4 separate regions of the Homo sapiens genome follow, and regions 1, 3 and 4 are each linked to region 2. The links are contacts of gene promoters, found by promoter capture Hi-C in blood cells and fetal thymus (Javierre and others, 2016). All regions are on one chromosome and are shown on one strand. The core of a region is centred on a gene start or on the middle of the fragment in contact, and the rest is flanking DNA. Distances in the headings are between cores, read along the strand shown. Region 1 has its middle 56 kb from the start of CYB5A. Region 2 holds the start of CNDP2 (carnosine dipeptidase 2). Region 3 has its middle 23 kb from the start of TIMM21. Region 4 overlaps FBXO15 (F-box protein 15).

Region 1 (4,635 bases), core at 438-2,937, 260 kb before region 2:
GCATATAGCCTTTGTCGTTTATTAGCTATTTTAGTATTGTATGTTTTATTTTACTGATGACTGGTGGTTGTTAAAGCATTAGTTCTAGGTTGCCATTCCAGCTCGCATGATTTTGAGGAATGGTTTCCAGAAGGGCTTTCTAGCACATTTCCCCCACAGAAAAAGCTTAGTCGATTCTTTCCTGATAGCAACAGATGAAAGCTTTATGTCATAGGAAATCATAGTGATATTCTGGTGGCAACATGTACAAAATTATTATATAAATCTTGCTTATTATATAATCCTTTGGCTATACTTAAGGACAGCTCTTGAGGCAGGCACACTGGGAGCCACGTGGCATTAAACAGATCATCTTTCTTTCACACCCACGCAAGAATCAAAAGCAATGCTAAACAAAGTGTTCATCCAGCCCTTAATCTCCAAGGGGAAGAGGTTACAATAAAAATAATTTCTTCACCTGAGTATCAAACAGTCACAATTCTGGGGAACCCAATTTCCACTTCAGAAAGGCAAATGCTAAGGAATTCTCACCATCTGACTCTCACGGTAAAATCCCGTGCAATTCTTTATGTTTCACACTTGAGAAAAAGAAAGGGCATCAACTTTAACAGCTCCTTGAACTTCGGCCCTTGCAAGGAAAGTGATTGCATAACAGGGTACATATCAACAAGTGAGGCTGTTCTTTATATGTTTTGGCTCAGGAAAGAGCATGTGAACTTTTTTCTGGGGTCAGCATTTGGAACAGACATACCAGTGGGAGGAACAGAGGGTGATAATGTTTAACCAATAAACTGAGCTGAACTCAATCTCCTGCCTTGACAGGGGAACTATGCAAGGTCCTTTGCTTTGAAAGGCTTGGGCTCTGAGCATTCGTCAGCAATGGGTTGAGTCATATCATTGTGTTGAAGTTATTATTCGATGATTGGGAAAATGAGAAATGCTTGGAGGCCTCCACTGACTTTTGACAGACTGAGAAAAGCCAGAGTTTCTTCTTTGAAGGCTTATGAAGCAAGTCCTTCTTCTGCCTGGGGGTTAGTGCCTGTTCCAGCAAGGGCTGGCGAGGGGTACAGGGAGGTAAAGACACAAGCATAGGGGAAGTCATCTGACTGGGGAAGTCACACTGGCTATGCAGTGACACGTCGGAGACTCTCAGTCAATATGAATGAATAAATAGATACATTACACACAGGAAGAGTTTGTATGCAAACTCTGGTATGACTCCTCCAAAAAAAAGCAAAAGCCTATTACCTGATGAGACATGATGTGTTAATACTACTTAATTATGACTTCAAGGCCGGGCGCAGTGGTTCATGCCTGTAAGCCAAGGGAGGCCAAGGCAGATGGATCACTTGAGGTCAGGAGTTCTAGACCAGCCTGGCCAACATGGTGAAACCCTGTCTCGACTAAAAATACAAAACTGAGCTCAGTGTCGTGGCACAGCTACGTAATCCCAGCTACTCAGGAGGCTGAGGTAGGAGAATCTCTTGGACTGGGGAGGCAGAGGTTGCAGTGAGCTGAGATTGTGCCAATGCACTCCAGTCTGAGCGACAGAGTGAGACTCCATCTCAAAAAAAAAAAAAAAAAAAAAAAAAGATATGGCTTCAAGTTCAGGCTGTAGTTGCTTTACAGAAAAAGAAACCTGTTGAACAACATGAGCAGAAAAATCAACTGTTTACATCTTGTGCATTCTAACCTAGAAAACCTCCCTTCAGCCTATGAAATTGGCACTGGTCTGACTTACCTCACCATGTCCAAATCCTTGCTGGCGGTTTCCAAATACTGGCTTGAGGTTTTTAAAAAATTCAAATATCTCTTTGCAACTTGAAGTCCCTTCAATCTATTCTCTAACAAATGTATGGGAAGGCATCAATTTTAGGCCATGCCGATGTTTGAGGTGAGAGAATGTCCACCTTGGATGCAGCTGACAGCTGAGGCTGCTGTCATACCCCACATGAAGTGGGGCTCTGAGGGCTAACCCACTTCCATTTGCTGAACTCAGCTGGATTTTGCTCAGAATTATAGTTTATTCAGGCTGGGGCAGAATCCCCAGGGACTGTCAGGACCAGTTCTGTTGGAAACCTGAGGCCAGTTGGTCTGACCCCTCGGGCAGGGCCATAGGAGCCAGCAGTGGTCTCGGCAGCAGCAAACTTTTACATCTCTGTGCATCACCTGAGCTTTGCAGCAGGAGGAGTGAGGGGCGGCAGCAGCTGCGCAGAGACAGGTTCTGGAGCAACCAGTTCCCGGGACATAGGGATACACACACTCCTTCCTCAGGGACAGGATTCTAAGTTCTGTGTTATATTTGTTAGAAGTCTTTGAGTTGTAGAAAAACCCACCCACCTAAAATTGTCTTAGAAAATCAAGGAAATTTATAAGTTTCAACATTTAAGTTGAAAGAGATTTCCATTCTTGTAGGTCAGCACTTGCCAAATTATCAGCAATATCATATGCTTCCAACCTTCTTATTAGAAGTCCACAATAGGTGTGGCTTCGAGAGAGGCATGATCCGCAGCTCAGCCAGCATGTCCAAGGACTCAGAGTTTCCCAGTCTTTCTAACCCACCTTCCATGTTGACAGGCTCAGCCTCAATCTCTGTGAGTCCCCACCCCAGAAGGACCCAAGATACCTCATGACGTCAACATGGCCATGGCAGCTCCAGACACATGCCTTTACATCCCACCACCAGGGGAGGAAAGCAGTCTCTCCTGAACACACACACAGCAGGGAAGCAGGTCCACGTTCCAAGGAACACTGGTGAAATTCCTTCTGCCTCCTTGGTTCTGATAGAGTGGAATCATTTCCCACTAGGCCAGGGATGGGATGTTCTTTAAGCTCAAGTGAATCCTAACTCAGCCTGGAGTTAGGTGAGGGGTCAATCCCACCTATGTCCCATAGCTGAAAACGAGGGAAGCAGATCTCCCGAGTTAAATCTGGGTGCTGTTACTGGAAGGAGAGTGGATATTCAGTTGTTAAAAAAAAAAAAAGCCTACTGCTCACTCCAAGTACAGAGACAGGTGTCAACTGAACAAGCATTTAAACTTAGTGAGCCCCCCAGGGCTAGATTTCCTCAAGGAGGAATCTTTCAGGGACCAAAGGACCTAACCTCCTGCTGGTCGGGCATGCAGGGCCTCGAGCTGGTCTTTGAATGGAAACTGGATAAGAGTGTTTGTGCCCAAGCTTCAGAGGCCAAGCACATGCCCACACAGTGGTCTCGGAGCCAGCCAGCCTCGCAGTGCTATTCCATATCCTTCCATAGGCCTGGTCACTCCCTATTTTGTTCTTATGGCACTTGTTGCAAACCTCTTCTTTCTCTCCACCACCTCCCTCTCCCTCTCAGTGGGTGGCTTCAGGAATAGGGGACAATAGGCGTGAAATTTAAATTTCCCTTTTTCCTCCCCTTCCCCTACTCCCAATGTCAGGGACATTCTTGCCTCCTTGGTCCTTCTAGGAAGTCTCATTCCGAGACTCCCAGGACCTTGGCTGTCTGTTAGCCCCGTCCCCAACAGCCTCTGCCCATACACAGCTCTTGCAGCATTGAAACACCCATTAGTATCTTCCACCTTTAAAACAAAAATGAAATGAAGAGCCACCACCACCTGCCCATCTCTTTCCCCCGGATCACAGCCAGGGTTCCTGAAATGGCAGTCCCCGCTCTTCTCGTCCACTGCGCACCTCCTGGCCTTCCTCTGCCCTGGGGGCTGCCCTGGATCTGCCCGTGGGTGGTGGCTGCTGTTGCTCCCCCAGAAGACACGTTCCGTCCTAATCTCAGCATAACTGGGTGAGCACAGGGACCTTAGAGACCAACAAGAGGAGCTGACTCTCGCTCCGGCACCCACTTTTCTGGGATCTTGGCTGCTGCATTTTTAAAATGGAGATACTGATCACTTTCTACTCCTCTGTGTGCCATGAGGATGAGATGAGGTCATCCACATCACACCCTCTGAGGTTGCCTGGGCCCTGGTGAGCCCTGCACACATGCTGTCTTGGTGGTCTTGCTCTCCCTGGCCCTGCAGCCCAGGGCACTGCCCAGCACGCTGCTGCCATCTGTGGCTGCGTCTCCCATGGGCTCCCATCCCCGGCTCTCTGATCTCATCCCACATACCCTTCCCAAGGACTGCAGCATCCAGGTGGCCTCAGTGACTTCCATGAGCTGATGACCCTCCAGCCATATCTCCCATCCAGACATCCTCATCCCCTTCCAGAACGTTCTCTCTGGAAGACACAGCACCTTGATCATCATGTATCCCCAGTGCTTTCTACAGAAACTGACATAGGGAAGTGTTTCCCACTCCTGAGTGACTGGATGGATAAGAGATTCGGAATGAAAGCAGAGCGTCACACTATCATATGCTTGAAGTTGTAAGAGGAGTCGATTTTGGCCAAGGAATGTGACTGGAGAAAAGCAGATGGCACAAGACAAGACAGAGGCCTGGGGAGCAGCCCAAGCAGAGGGGTGGAAGGAACAGCCCTCCCACCTCGCAGGCCTCCTGAAAACTCTGGGTGGGGCAGGGCTCCTCCTCCTTCAGGGCAGGGCCCACGATTCTCCGTCCCTCAAAAGCTGCTGGAGATCTCACTGCTGTGGGTCTCCCAGGACACACTGAGGAGCCGGGGTTTAGAGGTCGCTAATTCCCCTTA
Region 2 (4,481 bases), core at 421-2,920:
CCAATGTTTACTTTTTGCAATGTTTGCAAAATGTGTAATATAGTTTTTTCTTTTTATCATTCATGTACAATAATTATTATGAGAATTTAATCCAGAAGAAAAAATGTTAATACTTAAAGCTTTTTGGTTATAGCAAAGTGTCTATGGCCATACCACCCTGAACATGCCTAATCTCATCTGGTTATAGCAAAGTAAATATTAATTTAAATTTTTATCATAGTCTGTTGTAGAGAAATGATTAGGATATGAGTAAGACTATTAAGTATAAAAATGTTACATTTAACAAAATTCTATGAGGGATGTGGAATAGAAATAAAAAATAAAAGAGGAGGCAGGGATGGGGGGGACGGGGTGGCTCACGCCTGTAATCCCAGCACTTTAGGAGGCTGAGGCGGGTGGATCAGTAGGTCAAGAAATCGAGACCATCTTGACCAATATGGTGAAACCCTGTCTCTACTAAAAATACAAAAATTAGCTGGGTGCGGTGGTGCGCACCTGCAGTCCCAGCTACTCGGGAGGCTGAGGCAGAATGGCTTGAACCTGGGAGGCGGAGCTTGCAGTGAGCTGAGACTGGGCTACTGCATTCCAGCATGGCAACAGAGCAAGACTCTGTCTCTAAATAAATAAATAAATAAATAAATAAATAAATATAAAAAGAGGAAACAAACCATGTAAATTTTAAGGGAGGAGACAATTTTAACATTTTACTTTATGTGGGAACGTATACATCTCTTACAACTATTAAATTCATTTTTAAAAAATAATAACTCCCGAGCCATCACTCCTTAAAGAATGTGGTAGTGGTACAAGTTTAAAGAAAGTCTTTTGAGAACACTCTATTGGAAAAGTGAGCAGACTAGGGAATAACAATTTTACCCCCAAGAATTGTTGTTAAGATTAAAAAGGAAAGCGCTGTCGCAGACGCTCAAACACGGTGCTGGCTCTGCTTCCTTCATCAGTTCCTAGGGTCATGGGACACAAATACTAAAATATTTCCACTACTGGTAACGATGCTGGCGAACGCTTTCCTAATCCAGTTCAGACCGACCTCTCATTGGAGCTTGTGTGACCCGCAGGAGTCCGTGCCCCGACTCCGCCGGGACTGAAACGCAACGGAAAGTGCAGTGCTGGATGCGCAAGGGAATGGGAGCGTCGTGGGACCTCCGGAGCCTGGGAGATCAGAGGGTGGAGTCAGGGCCCCCTAGTTTTGGACTCCATTGCCGCACTGCAGGCGACTTCTCGGACCCCACCGTTGAAGCACCAGGCCCCCCGCCCACCCAAGAGCAACCGGGAAGCACAGCACAAGCCCACAGCTCCGGACACGCGCTCCCGTGTGCCCTGCCTCCCCTGAATCCCAACCCACGAAATCTCCGCCCCCTCGCCACGCCCACATCCCCGTCTACCGTCGGGGAGGGGCGACGAGGCGAAAGCCTTGTGGACCAGGCCGGGATTGGTGGGCGGGACGGAAATGGAGCTGGGAGAGGTGACGTCACCTTCCGCACCTGGCTCAGGGCGGAAATGGGGCGGGGAGAGAGTGACACCACCCCTCTGCCTGTGGCTGGATTGGTGGGCGTGGCGGGGGCGTGGCGATGCCTGCCCTCCGGACAAGGCGGGGTTGGTGGCCAGGGCGACCGCGGGGCGGGCCAGCGCCGGGGGTCGTGGCCGGGACACGTGGTACGGAACCGGCGCCGCGCTTGCTGCTGGTAACAGGGCCTTGCCTAGTGGGCCTTCCTTCCCAGGTGGGTCTTCCTGATGGACCTTCCTTCCCGGGTGGGCGCCCTGAGCTGGGAACGGGCTGGGCGGGGAGGACCCGGGTCAGCGGCGAGAGTCACGCCTCATTCGTGGGGGAGCGTGGGGCGCCCGGCCGCAGCCAGGCGGGAACAATGGTGTCCGGGCTGTTCCCGAGCGCGCGGTCGGGGGCGGAGGCCCGTGACGGCCATGGCCCCGGGGCCTCTCGCACCTCCGGGCCACTCGTGTCCCAGCAGCGCCGAGCGCGTCCCCGGTACGCAGGGACAAGCTGGGCGGCGCACTTGGCCTGAGCCTGCGTGGCCCTCCCTGGTGGAGTCGAGTGGAACGACCCGGGTTGGAGATGGGGTTGCGGGGAGCCGAGCGCTGGTCAGGCCACACCCCTCCCCAGGGGCCTGCTGAGAACTCCAGCCTTTCTCCAACGGATCCCTTTCCCGGAGACCTGGGGTGGGGAGTGTGGCGGGACAGAAGCCTCCCAGGTTCAAAGGGCCCTGGACAGCGTCCCTAGCTCCCGCCAGCATTTGAGGCAGCGTTTAAGGCTATAGGAGGAAGCGTCTGAGGGGAGACAAAATTCCCATGCCAGCTTGATGGTCTGGGGCAGGTGTCTTATTCAATTGGCTTCAGTTTCCTCATCTGTGAAATAGAGACAATATTTGGTCCTCACAGACAGGGCCACCAAACCAAACTCCCCACCGCCTGCCAAGGTCAGATTCCGTAGATCATCCAAGCATAGACTGCAGGAAGAGGCGGAGAACCCGGGGCCTGCTACCAATACCTTCCTTGTCCCTAATGTTTGCAGGCAGGAGTGGAGGAAGAGAAGTCCACATTATGCTTAGGGATCAAGTTCTAGCTTGGGCAGATTGGAGATTCTTTTATTGGTTCTTAATCAGACATGAAGGTGTGATTCAGTTATTTGTGTTATATATGCCTTCAATTATCAAGGGACAGGGACTGAGATTCTCAGAACTAGAAGACTCATTTGTGTGTACTACTGACGGTTCCAGGTGCCACAGCAATTTCTCCTGCCCTCCACTAGTCTCAACATTTAAATCATGTTACTCCCTTGCCAGGCATGGTGGCTCATGTGTGTAACCTCGGCACTTTGGGAGACCAAGGCGGACAGATCGCTTGAGTCCAGGAGTTCGAGACCAGCCTGAGTAACACGAGCAAACCCCGTCTCTACAAAAAATACAAAAATTAGCTGGGTGTGGTGGTGCGCACCTGCAGTCCCAGCTACTTGGGAAGCTGAGGCAGGAGGATCATTTGAGCCTGGGAGACAGAGGTTGCAGTGAGCCAAAATCACAGCAATGCACTCCTGCCTGGGTGACAGAATGACAACCTGTCTCTAAATAAATAAATAAAGTTACTCCGTATGAACTTTAGATTTTTAGAGGGGAGTGAGGTGTCATTTAAAAGGATAATGCTTTTGCTTAAATCAGCATACTGCTTTTACCTTAATTAGTGGTGTTCTCCAGAGCATATAAAAATGGTTCCATTTAATGGCTTTGTAACGGGGGAGGTGGGGGGAAGTGAAACAGGAGTAACCCAGAAGTGTGAATGGGAGGAGAAACTGGAACCTGGCCTAGCCTGGTTTGACTGGATGAGTGATTAACAGGAGTTGCTTTTTAGCCCATCTCTGATGGTGGAACAATCTGATCCCTGTTTCCTCTCTTTTAGTGAAAGTCGTAACTTAGATAATTACAGTCATATGTTGCTTAAGGATGGGGATACATTCCAAGAAAATGCATTGTTAGGCGATTCGTTGTTGTGTGCACATCCTGAGCTGCGCTCACACAAACCTGGATGGTACAGCCTCCTACATACCTAGGCTATATGGTGTAGCCTATTGCTCCTAGGCTACAAACCCGTACATGTACCTTTACTGGATGCTGTAGGCAGTTGTAACACAGTGGTAGGTATTTGTGTATCTAAACATATCTAGACAGAAAATGAATTTTTTAGCTCCATTATAATCTTTTGGGACCACCGCTGTTGTTGATGGAAATGTTATGTGGCACGTGACTATATTTTTGAGTGACTTTAGCTACAATGCCACTGGTTAATTTGACTACAAGAGAATAATATTAATGAGAATGTACCACAGTGAGCTTGGGATTTGTGGCATTTAATAACCAGGAACCCAGATGAAAATCACCACATGTAGCATATTGTCCTGCTAAATAGGATTTCCTTTAATGTGAACAGGTAGCTTCCCTGCGTACATTTTTGGCAACAGGTGGATGACAGTGTTATTTATTAACACTGATAAACGCCTCTCCAGCGTGCTCATGGGCTCCATCTTACTTGAGGCTCCTCCAAATGAGTGCCTCAGCAGAAAGATCCGAGCTGGCTGGGAGGTATATAACCATTCCATGCTCTGTGGCTAGTGTTTGAAGAGGAGGAAGAGGGCACTTGAGAAGGCAGTGGTTGGATGTCCCACCCACATAGAAATCACATTTGCAACTTGCAGTGCCCTGCGATTTCATCACCCTGCACAGCAACAGCCACTTTTGAACAGTTGCCACGCTTGGTGTCGTGGTGGATAAAGTCACCTCTCTGTTGAGAAATCACTTTGAAAGCCTATACCAAGGAAACAATGCTCTTTACCTGCAGCATGTCAATGCACAGGCGTTTGTCTGGCATGTAGACACGAGGCTGTAGTAGGGTCCTGTCACTCCACAGCTGTGACTCTGAGGCACTTCATGTCCCCGCAGTTTTGAATTTGCTCCGTACAG
Region 3 (4,742 bases), core at 1,585-4,084, 320 kb before region 2:
AAGGCTGAATCACCATGAGGAGCAGGGCTGGCAGGAGAAACACATATGCTGCTCTTCAGGGTATGGAATAAGGCAGCAAAAAAAAAAAAATGGTTATGGAACAATCACCTTCTAAGACCACTTACTTTATAATATGACAAAACAAAAATGCCAAAAAGGAAGGATATTCTGATCAAATAGTTACTAGAACCACAGTAAATGCTTTGATGGGTATCTATTGATTTGACCCTACAGATGTGGTTCATGTTTAGAAGAGAATGTTTTCATGATAACACATTTATTCGACTGCAGTGAAGGTGGTGCAGCCATTTACATGAGAAGCTCCTACATAGCTCGGAGTCACCATTTGCTTTCAATCATTTGCATGAGATATTCTGCACTTATCTGTTGACCTTCCAGAGTGGCATCTTGGCCCCACCTTGCTTCTCACTGTGTGGAATATGATGCTACCAACAGTTGGCTGTGTGTAGCTTGGAAGAAAGGTACTCCCCAAATTACGCCCAAGACTCTTCCTAAGGCACTCTTCCCCTTTTACCACCAATATCCTATTTCTAGATTTCTCATCCAACCTAGAAAAACATTAGTCTGTGCTTTTCTGGTTTATAATCATAATACAGACATCTCCTAAAAATTATAAAATGTCCCTCTCTGTCCTCTTTTTCTACACTCTCTGCTTTTTCTTGAATTTGTGCTGAACAAGGAATTCGTTTAAAAATAGTTAAAGGAATGGCGAGTACAGCATAAGATGTTTAACAGGTTTTCCTTTACATGCTTATTACCTTGAGATCTGAGTAATTTATAAAAAGGGGGGGAAAAGCGTACCAAAATTAAAGCTTAGTTGAAAAGGTCAGATTCGTCGCATGGACAATCTTGACTTCATTCCTTGCAGCTGGCGTCAGTGGCTGCATTTATTGCTGACAGTCATGATTATTCGATGGGTATTATAACATCATGTGAGGGTGGCACGACAAATGGGGAGAAGGACAAAATGATTTGGTCAATGACGATACTTAATCCAAACACGAGTCACATTTATGAGAATTTACTGTTCACATCCACTGATTATTCTGGCCACCTGAGAATGGACATGGAAATGTTCATTTATTTAAGCAAAGTTGTCAGCATTGTTTCAAAGACATGTAAATGCTGTCAACAAATAAATGCCAAGTGAGGCAAATGGCTTACTGCCCATAGGGAAGCCTCTAAAGGAATATGTCTTGATTTCTAGATGAACCCAGCAGAACCCCTTGTCTCTGGCAAGATGATGAAAATTACCTATACTTTTCCTGGAAGCCACTGGCTGCTCTGTGTTACAAGCTGCGAATACTGCTGTCAATTTTATTTAGGAATAATTCAGATAAAAGATATAAACTTATTAAGCTAAATATCATCAGCATTGATATCAATTTGTATTTAGCCTATAGATACAAGAAATGAGATAAAAATATGCTTCAAGTAGTTGCAAATAATGAAATTGAATCTTCATAGGCTCATTATTTTTCATAACAAAGGATTACAAAAGTGTTCATTTTTACTCTATCAAAGGTGACTGTATCATTATTTGTTATTAATATGGATTTATTTCATTTTTAATGTATTTCATCCAGGAATGCCAATGCATTCACTAAGACCCATGCAGAAGTTTCTCATCCATGCCAATACCACCTGCCACAGCTCTGCGAGGCTCTCCTTATGGTAGCACATGGGAGATCTGGCTGAGGGAAGGAGCCAACCTCTTGGCTGGATTGCATCCAGTCTTTGAAGTGTTCTTGACTTGGCCCCTGTGGTTGCAACTCTGAGGACGTTTTTCAAGGGGGCAGCTTGCATTTCTCCTGTGTGAGGGGCACCCGCAGACTTCTAGTGTCTCAACAAGAGAATTGAGGTTTCAGTGTGTGGAGAGCTCTGATGAGCAGTTAAACGACACAAAACCCTTCAAAATCCAGGTGACTCCACACAGAAGCTCATGTCCCAAGGAAACAGCATGACGCAGCTTCCGGCTAACTCTCATTGGAAGCCCATCAAGCCTCAGTGTCCCCAAGTTACAACCCTTGTTTGTGCCCTTTCTCTTTTCTTTTTTTTTATTTTTTGAGACGGAGTCTCACTCTTATTGCTCAGGCTGGAGTGCAATGGCGTGATCTCGGCTCACTGCAACCTCTGCCTCTCGAGTTCAAGCAATTCTCCTGCCTCAGCCTCCCAAGTAGCTGGGATTGATTACAAGTGCCCACCACCACACCCAGCAATTTTTTTGTATTTTTAGTAGAGACGGGGTTTCAGCATGTTGGCCAGGCTGGTCTTGAACTCCTGACCTCAGGTGATCCATCTGTCTCGGCCTCCCAAGGTGCTGGGATTACAGGCGTAAGCCACCATGCCTGGCCGTTTGTGCCCTTTTTCTCCTGCTTCTCTGTCTCTGATGTCCCTCCCTCCTCTCTCTGCTGTCCCCCCTCCTCCTCTGTTTCCTCATCTCCATACTCTCTCAGACTGTAATAAAGACTATAATAAAGACTAGTGCCTTAAACAGGTCCTAAACACAACCATGTCGACAGGTGTTTATGTTCCTTTTTCTTGGTTTAAAATCAGGCAAAGTGAACATTTTAGGCGCCACCGGATCAGTAGAGGTGAGGAGGAGTCTTGTGGATTGGGAGAAGCATAAAGTGAGAAAGGTGCCCTTTCCTCAGGTCAGCTCAGCACAACAGAGAGCTCCCCACCCCGCCGATCTTTCTAATATTAATACCAGGACCGCATCTCATTCTCAGACCAGCTCCTCATAGTTTCACTTTCTTGTTTGCAGTGAACAGGTCCAGAGACTCAATCTTTCTTCTCTTGAGCAATACAGCTTCGCAATTGAGCATTTGGGCTCAGAATTCAGACAGCTGTAGCTGTGTCAAGTCCCAATTCTACCACTGCGACAGGTCATTTACTTTACTTCTCCGTAAATTGCCTAGTTCCTTATCTGTAAGTGGGAAAACGATAGTGCTGATCTTGTAACTCTTTCTGATAATTAATTGTATGTAAAGTTCTAAGGAAGACTGCAGTGAAGGAAAGGGTGCAATCTATTCCTTAAAGTTCTAAGGAAGACTGCAGTGAAGGAAAGGGTGCAATCTATTCCTTAAAGTTCTAAGGAAGACTGCAGTGAAGGAAAGGGTGCAATCTATTCCTTAAAGTTCTAAGGAAGACTGCAGTGAAGGAAAGGGTGCAATCTAGTCCTCAGGAAAAGTGCTAACTCCGTAGTGTGGCTCTTCCCACCGCGCCTGCGCACGCTGCACATGCAGGAAGATGCTGCCAACGAGGGGAGGATCTCGCCGGGCAAATCCCAACGGTCTCACCTGGCTCCGTGGCGAGCTCCCATGGGGGAAACAAAAATATCAACAAAACAGGACAACATGCCAAAAACAAGGCGAGTGCCGAGATCAGAGAAGAGGGAGCTATTCATTCTAAGGGCAGGACCGGGGAAGGCTTCAGGTGTTTCTCTGCGCAGGGGCCCAGAAAGGGGCTCTAAGCCATCGCTGCACCTTGTAGGGAAGCAGTGAGGATGGGACGAGGAGGGTCCCGCCTGGCCACCACGTCCTGCATGCTGAGGAGAGGGTCAGAACCCGCTCAAGGGAAAGCCTGGCAATGCCAGCCCTCCTTACCTCGTGGCCAAGTCCGCTTCCCGCTCGGCGCTCTCAGCCCTGTCCCCCTCCCGGTTCCTCCTCCCTTCCTCACCCAGTCCTCCCAGTCCTCCCAGTCCTCCCAGTCCTCCCAGTCCTCCCAGCTGCACTCACTGCGCTATTTCTCTCAGCAGCTGGCTTGGGCTCCAGTCTCTGGAGGGTGCTTTCATCTCTCTTCTCCGCCAGCTCTGTGGTCCCAAGGATGCTCCTCTAGGTAACACTGCCAGCCTCGCCTCCCTGCCTGTAACTCCACCGGCTTCCTGCCTCCTTTTCCTCATGGAGGGCTCCCACCGGGGTGCCACAGCCTTGGGTGCGGGGCGGGGGTGGTGAGGAAACGCTGAGCGTGACAAATACTTGATCCTTTGCTGAGGAGATTGGGTTTCCTTCCCTGAGTGATGGGTAGCCATTGAAAATTTGTTTTGTTTTGTTTTGTTTTGAGACGGAGTCTCGCTCTGTCGCCCAGGCTGGAGTGCAGTGGCGCGATCTCGGCTCACTGCAGGCTCCGCCTCCCGGGTTCCCGCCATTCTCCTGCCTCAGCCTCCCGTGTAGCTGGGACTACAGGCGCCCGCCACCACGCCCGGCTAATTTTTGTATTCTTAGTAGAGACGGGGTTTCACCGTGTTAGCCAGGATGGTCTCGATCTCCTGACCTTGTGATCTGCCCGCCTCAGCCTCCCAAAGTGCTGGGATTACAGGAGTGAGCCACCGCGCCCGGCCGCCATTGAAAGTTTTTAAGAAACTGACTTGCGTTCAAGATCACTCTGTCAGCCAAGTAAAAACTGGATTTATTATTTATTTATTTATTTATTTATTTTATTATTATTATTATTTTGAGACCGAGTCTCACTCTGTCGCCCAGGCTAGAGCTCAGTGGCGCGATCTCAGCTCACTGCAACCTCCGCCTCCCGGGTTCAAGCGATTCTCCTGCCTCAATCTCCTCAGTAGCTGGGATTACAGGCACCCGCCACCACGTCCGGCTAATTTTTGTAGTTTTAGTAGACACGGGGTTTCACCATGTTGTTCAGGCTGGGCTTGAACTCCTGACCTCGCGATACACCCGCCTTGGCCTCCCAAAGTGCTAGGATTATAGGCCTGA
Region 4 (4,201 bases), core at 327-2,826, 410 kb before region 2:
AATAAATGTTATCATTTCACTATTCTTAGGGTGATCAGATTCCTGGAGAGAAATACCTGAGCTGCACAGCAAATACAAGACATATGACATCACTGATCTGACTTTTTATTCTTTTGGGAATTCTGAGGACGGCTTAGTCTTAATACTGAATCCAAGAGCATAAAAGGCAAACAGAAAATAAACCACATCTACCCTCCAGGCCCAAGGGAGAAGGTACAAGCTTTTGAGCTATCTGCTATCTTTTCCCAAAGCCCATCTGAGAGAAGGAATTTATGGGGAAAACTGTCCAGGGACATGCAATCCATTCTCTACTTTAAAAACTCAAAATCCTGCTTTCAGATCAAGCTGTTTTTCTAAACACCTGTGCACCTCAGTCACATTGGTTTAGCAACCTACAGAATCACTGCTTGGAGCTCATGTAAAGGTCCAATTTTGAAGCCGTATCTTCAGCTTCTCTGAGAACTTCTATGAGAAATCTGTGAGTGCATCTGCTGCTAAGATGCTATTCAGGGTGGGTCCATTATGTAGCTTAGTCTGCCCTACATAAAGTCCCATTGGAAATTTTGTTTTTAATGATCAGAACTGGGATAAAGCTTTCTTTGTATAATTACTACATTTCCCTTTTTTCTCCCAATGAGAACTAAATGACTGCTCTCATCTTTCTCTGGACTACCAGAAAACACAGAACAAATTATTTTTAAAAATTATGCTGACCCTTTAAAAGACAGTCACATTCACATTCTGCCTTTCTTGATCCTCAAGGTCTATTTTGACGTGAATATTTTATCTTAGTACCTACTTTTATTATAGGCTTTATTGAAATCTGAAGAAAAAGAAAGAAGGTAGGTCTGTGCTCTTAAAGGCATGAAACAACATGGTGTGTGATAAACATCATTTTTACCAAAACTTAAACATTTGCTATGAATAAATAGGATTTGTAAAATATCTCATTGCATCAAATATCAAGTGGCTCAAGGGACAGTGCTTCATGATAACACCACTCTTGGTCCCAGTCGTCATCATTAATAGTTCTAACAAGGTGCGCATGCATAGCGCCGTATAAAGCCATGTTACAGGAGGCCCCCGCAGTCACAGGAGATTGATCCCACTGGTCCCTGGGACAATGAAAATCTTGTTCATCCCATAAAATAAAGTTGGAGAGTGACAAGAACCAGGAGCAGCCATGGGCACAAGGACAGAAGAAAGCAAAACTGTGAGAACATCTTTCTCCTCTTCCTCCTCCTCCCTCCTTCCCTGCTACTTCCCAACCACTAAGTCAACTCTCCCACCCATGTGGCTAATCTTTATTTAACAGTTCAAGGAAATCCCTATATCCTGGACTAAGAATTTATAACTGCAATAAGTTTTAAATTGGTACATGGATGATCAAGATGTTTTGAGTAGATGCTGCCTGCGTGGTCCAACCTTCAGTTCCACTCTCTTTCCACAAAACAGAGGGGCTTTGAGAGAGTAGGGGACTGTGATCAACAGTGTTCTGAAATGCTGCTGCAGACTACCTGCCCCTCCAACTCCACCATACTCAGTGACAAATGAAAGGTACTCAATAAGCATCTCATGAGTGAATCCACTGGCTGTCAATGGCTAACAGAATGTGCACCAACCTTCAGAAACCAGAACAATAAATCCAGAACTATAAAAGAAACATCATACATATATGACAATATAATTTATATATATAAACAGACTTTTTATTATATAGAAATCAAGTTACTTGAAGAAAAGAAAACGGTTCTGTTTTTACCTTTATACAGCCATCAAAAATATCAGTTTTCCACGAGAGGCCAACTTTTCCAATAAGAGGTAGGTGTTCTCTGTTATTTTTTAAATGTATAACAATGAGCTTCACATGTCCATTTTCAATATTTCCTGAAAAGATATAAGATTGTTTCAATCACTGTCTTCCAGTGCAAGATGACAAACCAAGCACGTTCAGTCGGCGACTTTATAAGGATACCTCACCCTGGTAAGCCCTGGCCTCAGCGATGAGGGCAACATGGGCACAGCAATCCCAGCCTCTGGCTTGAGGCCAGAGTGATGCATCTGTGTCCCAGAGGCAGAAACATTAACAAGTGCCCAGAAAGGTGATGTCAAAGGTGAGTCAGGGGAAGCTGGCTGAGGCGAGCCTGGATAGCCACCTGTCACTGATGGAAAGGTGGTCGCTGAAGGAGGAAAGGGTTCTTCTGATGTGGGTAAGCCAACAGTGTTGGAAACCGATATCTAGAATTACACAGCTGAAGAAAGCAGGTGCAGAAATGGCAAAGAAACAAGGGGCTGGAGAGCAGGCGAACATGAAGAGGAGTGGAAGAAACTCACATGAAATAAACCAACACCTCTGCACATGCTTGTAACTGAGTGAGAGTCCGTGCACATGCCCACCTAGCTGGAGGCCAAACCCTGGCCCTCTGCTGCCAGCTCCAAGCCAGCTACTGGCAGCCTGGCCACACGGAGGAGCCCTCGCACCCACACAGCACACTAGCCCTGCTGCCACAGGCCTCTTGTGGCAGGGAGAGCCGCAGCACCACTCGGTCTCACACAGACACAAGCTTCCTGGTTCTGTCTGAACGCACCCTGAGAAGCGACCATCAGTTGCTTCTCACACAAACCAACCGACAGCAACACAACTCATACCCGAGAATTCTCCAGAGATGGAAGTCTGAACAAAGGGAAGATGCAAGTCACAGGGCAAAGCAAACAGAAAAATCATGGAAAAGAGCAAATGTTCTCCAGCCCTGGCCTGGTTATTTCATGAGACAAAATAAAACCAAAGCCAAGCTGCCTTGGGAGCCAAAGCTCTGCTCTAGAAATGTTATACAGTGTTCTCCAACTTCAGTGTCACCAGAAGGTTAAAGCCCACACTTTGCCTGGGGCCTCTTTTGTGACCCAGTAATATGCTTTAAGTGAAAGAGGACGCAGAGGCAGGGTTTCCAGCCCCGCAAACGGGAGCTCCTTGCCCAGATGCCACACTGCTGGTTTCTCCACGTCTTACTTCTGTTCCAAGGACAGAGGCAGCCCACATTTTCCTCTCTAATGCTGAGTAATTAGCAAGAGCTGTGTAGCTTCCCTTCCACTCTCCCCAGGCATAGGAAGAAATGCCAAATGACACGGACCCTTCCCAGGCAACAGCTCTGCTGTCACCTCATCACCTCGTCACCTCAGCAGGGCTCGACGGAAGCAGGGAGGAAGTGTATGAAAAGCGAGGCCTCAGTGGAGGCACAGTAATGACATTCTGAATGGACCAGATGTGACTCTGCTCTGCCCTGCACTACTGCAGCCACGTGCAAAACCAAGGGAGGCCTCTGACTGGTGCGGCAAAGGCAGGCAGCCGACGGCGCCTACAGAAAACCAGGAGCTCATCTTCCACACAGCTTGTCCCCAGGACACGGCAGAAAATGCACTCCAAATACAGCAGCCAATAACGTCTCAGTGGCAACTGCCTGAGCTAATAAACCTCAAATCCCTGTAGGAAGCAGAGACTGTTATTTTGTTATTACCAGGTATTCTCCCACTTCAGAACAATTATAACACTGTGGTGTCTCCAAAGGTCAGAGCTCTTTCCGCCAACCCTCTGTAACCACTTATAAGACAGAGAAAGGTTAAGCTCTTCCTACATTTAAACAGTCTGCACATGGAACAGATGTGTGAAAGTGTGTGTATATAAAATAGGTGTATTTTTGAGTACTTATTGTATACCAACCACTGAGTTAGACACTTAACAGCTTAGAAGAATACTTTAACACCTTAATAATAATATTAACTGGGTAATATAATTTTCTGAATTCATAGGTGATAAAACTGATGCAGAGAGGTTAACAGTAACTCGCCCAAGGTCAGATCCCTGGTCAACGGCAGAAACATGATCCAAACCCTGTTCTGTGTCCAGAGTCTATGTTACAATAGAGTAAGAAATATGCAAAACATAGCACTAATTAATTACTAGCCAATAATTTATAATGCAGATTCAGATTCTCATGTTTGTTTTCATACTACTCCCAAGAGAAAAGCCTATTTATAAATTAGCAAGCAGGATACACTGGGGAATCACTATGGCTTCCCAATACTTGAAGTAATGGCTCAGCCTATGAGTCCCACAGCCTCTGCTCCCAGCCCTCCTTATAAGCCGGTCACTGGTGATGCAGGCTCCTTCAGTGAGACACATGTGTTCCTGTAAACCTGGAGTCGG

The links. The method cuts DNA at HindIII sites, captures the fragments that hold promoters and counts their contacts. A CHiCAGO score of 5 or more calls a contact.
Region 1: a contact is called between a fragment that was not itself captured here and the fragment with the promoter of CNDP2 in region 2, in 3 of 17 cell types (M2 macrophages, M1 macrophages and M0 macrophages). The highest score is 6.2, in M2 macrophages.
Region 3: a contact is called between a fragment that was not itself captured here and the fragment with the promoter of CNDP2 in region 2, in 2 of 17 cell types (naive CD8 T cells and activated CD4 T cells). The highest score is 5.8, in naive CD8 T cells.
Region 4: a fragment that was not itself captured here is called in contact with the fragment with the promoter of CNDP2 in region 2 in 4 of 17 cell types (naive CD4 T cells, total CD4 T cells, non-activated CD4 T cells and 1 more); the score reaches 9.0 in naive CD4 T cells.

The regions. Positions count from the first base shown.
Region 1 is chr18:74,233,782-74,238,416 of GRCh38, forward strand. No RefSeq gene overlaps it. Among named protein-coding and RNA genes, the nearest start is that of CYB5A, 56 kb to the right of the region's middle. RefSeq lists an enhancer at 3,851-4,350. The HindIII fragment of the contact is 2,976 bases long and covers 200-3,175 here.
Region 2 is chr18:74,494,693-74,499,173 of GRCh38, forward strand. It overlaps CNDP2 (carnosine dipeptidase 2), which reads left to right and starts at 1,671. Exons shown (of 12, transcript NM_018235.3): 1 at 1,671-1,739. RefSeq lists enhancers at 957-1,226, 1,784-2,296, 2,680-2,779 and silencers at 1,497-2,006, 2,137-2,186. The HindIII fragment of the contact is 6,969 bases long and covers 118-4,481 here.
Region 3 is chr18:74,169,642-74,174,383 of GRCh38, forward strand. No RefSeq gene overlaps it. Among named protein-coding and RNA genes, the nearest start is that of TIMM21, 23 kb to the left of the region's middle. The HindIII fragment of the contact is 4,007 bases long and covers 832-4,742 here.
Region 4 is chr18:74,080,165-74,084,365 of GRCh38, forward strand. It overlaps FBXO15 (F-box protein 15), which reads right to left. Exons shown (of 10, transcript NM_001142958.2): 9 at 1,763-1,887. Among named protein-coding and RNA genes, the nearest start is that of FBXO15, 66 kb to the right of the region's middle. The HindIII fragment of the contact is 1,971 bases long and covers 592-2,562 here.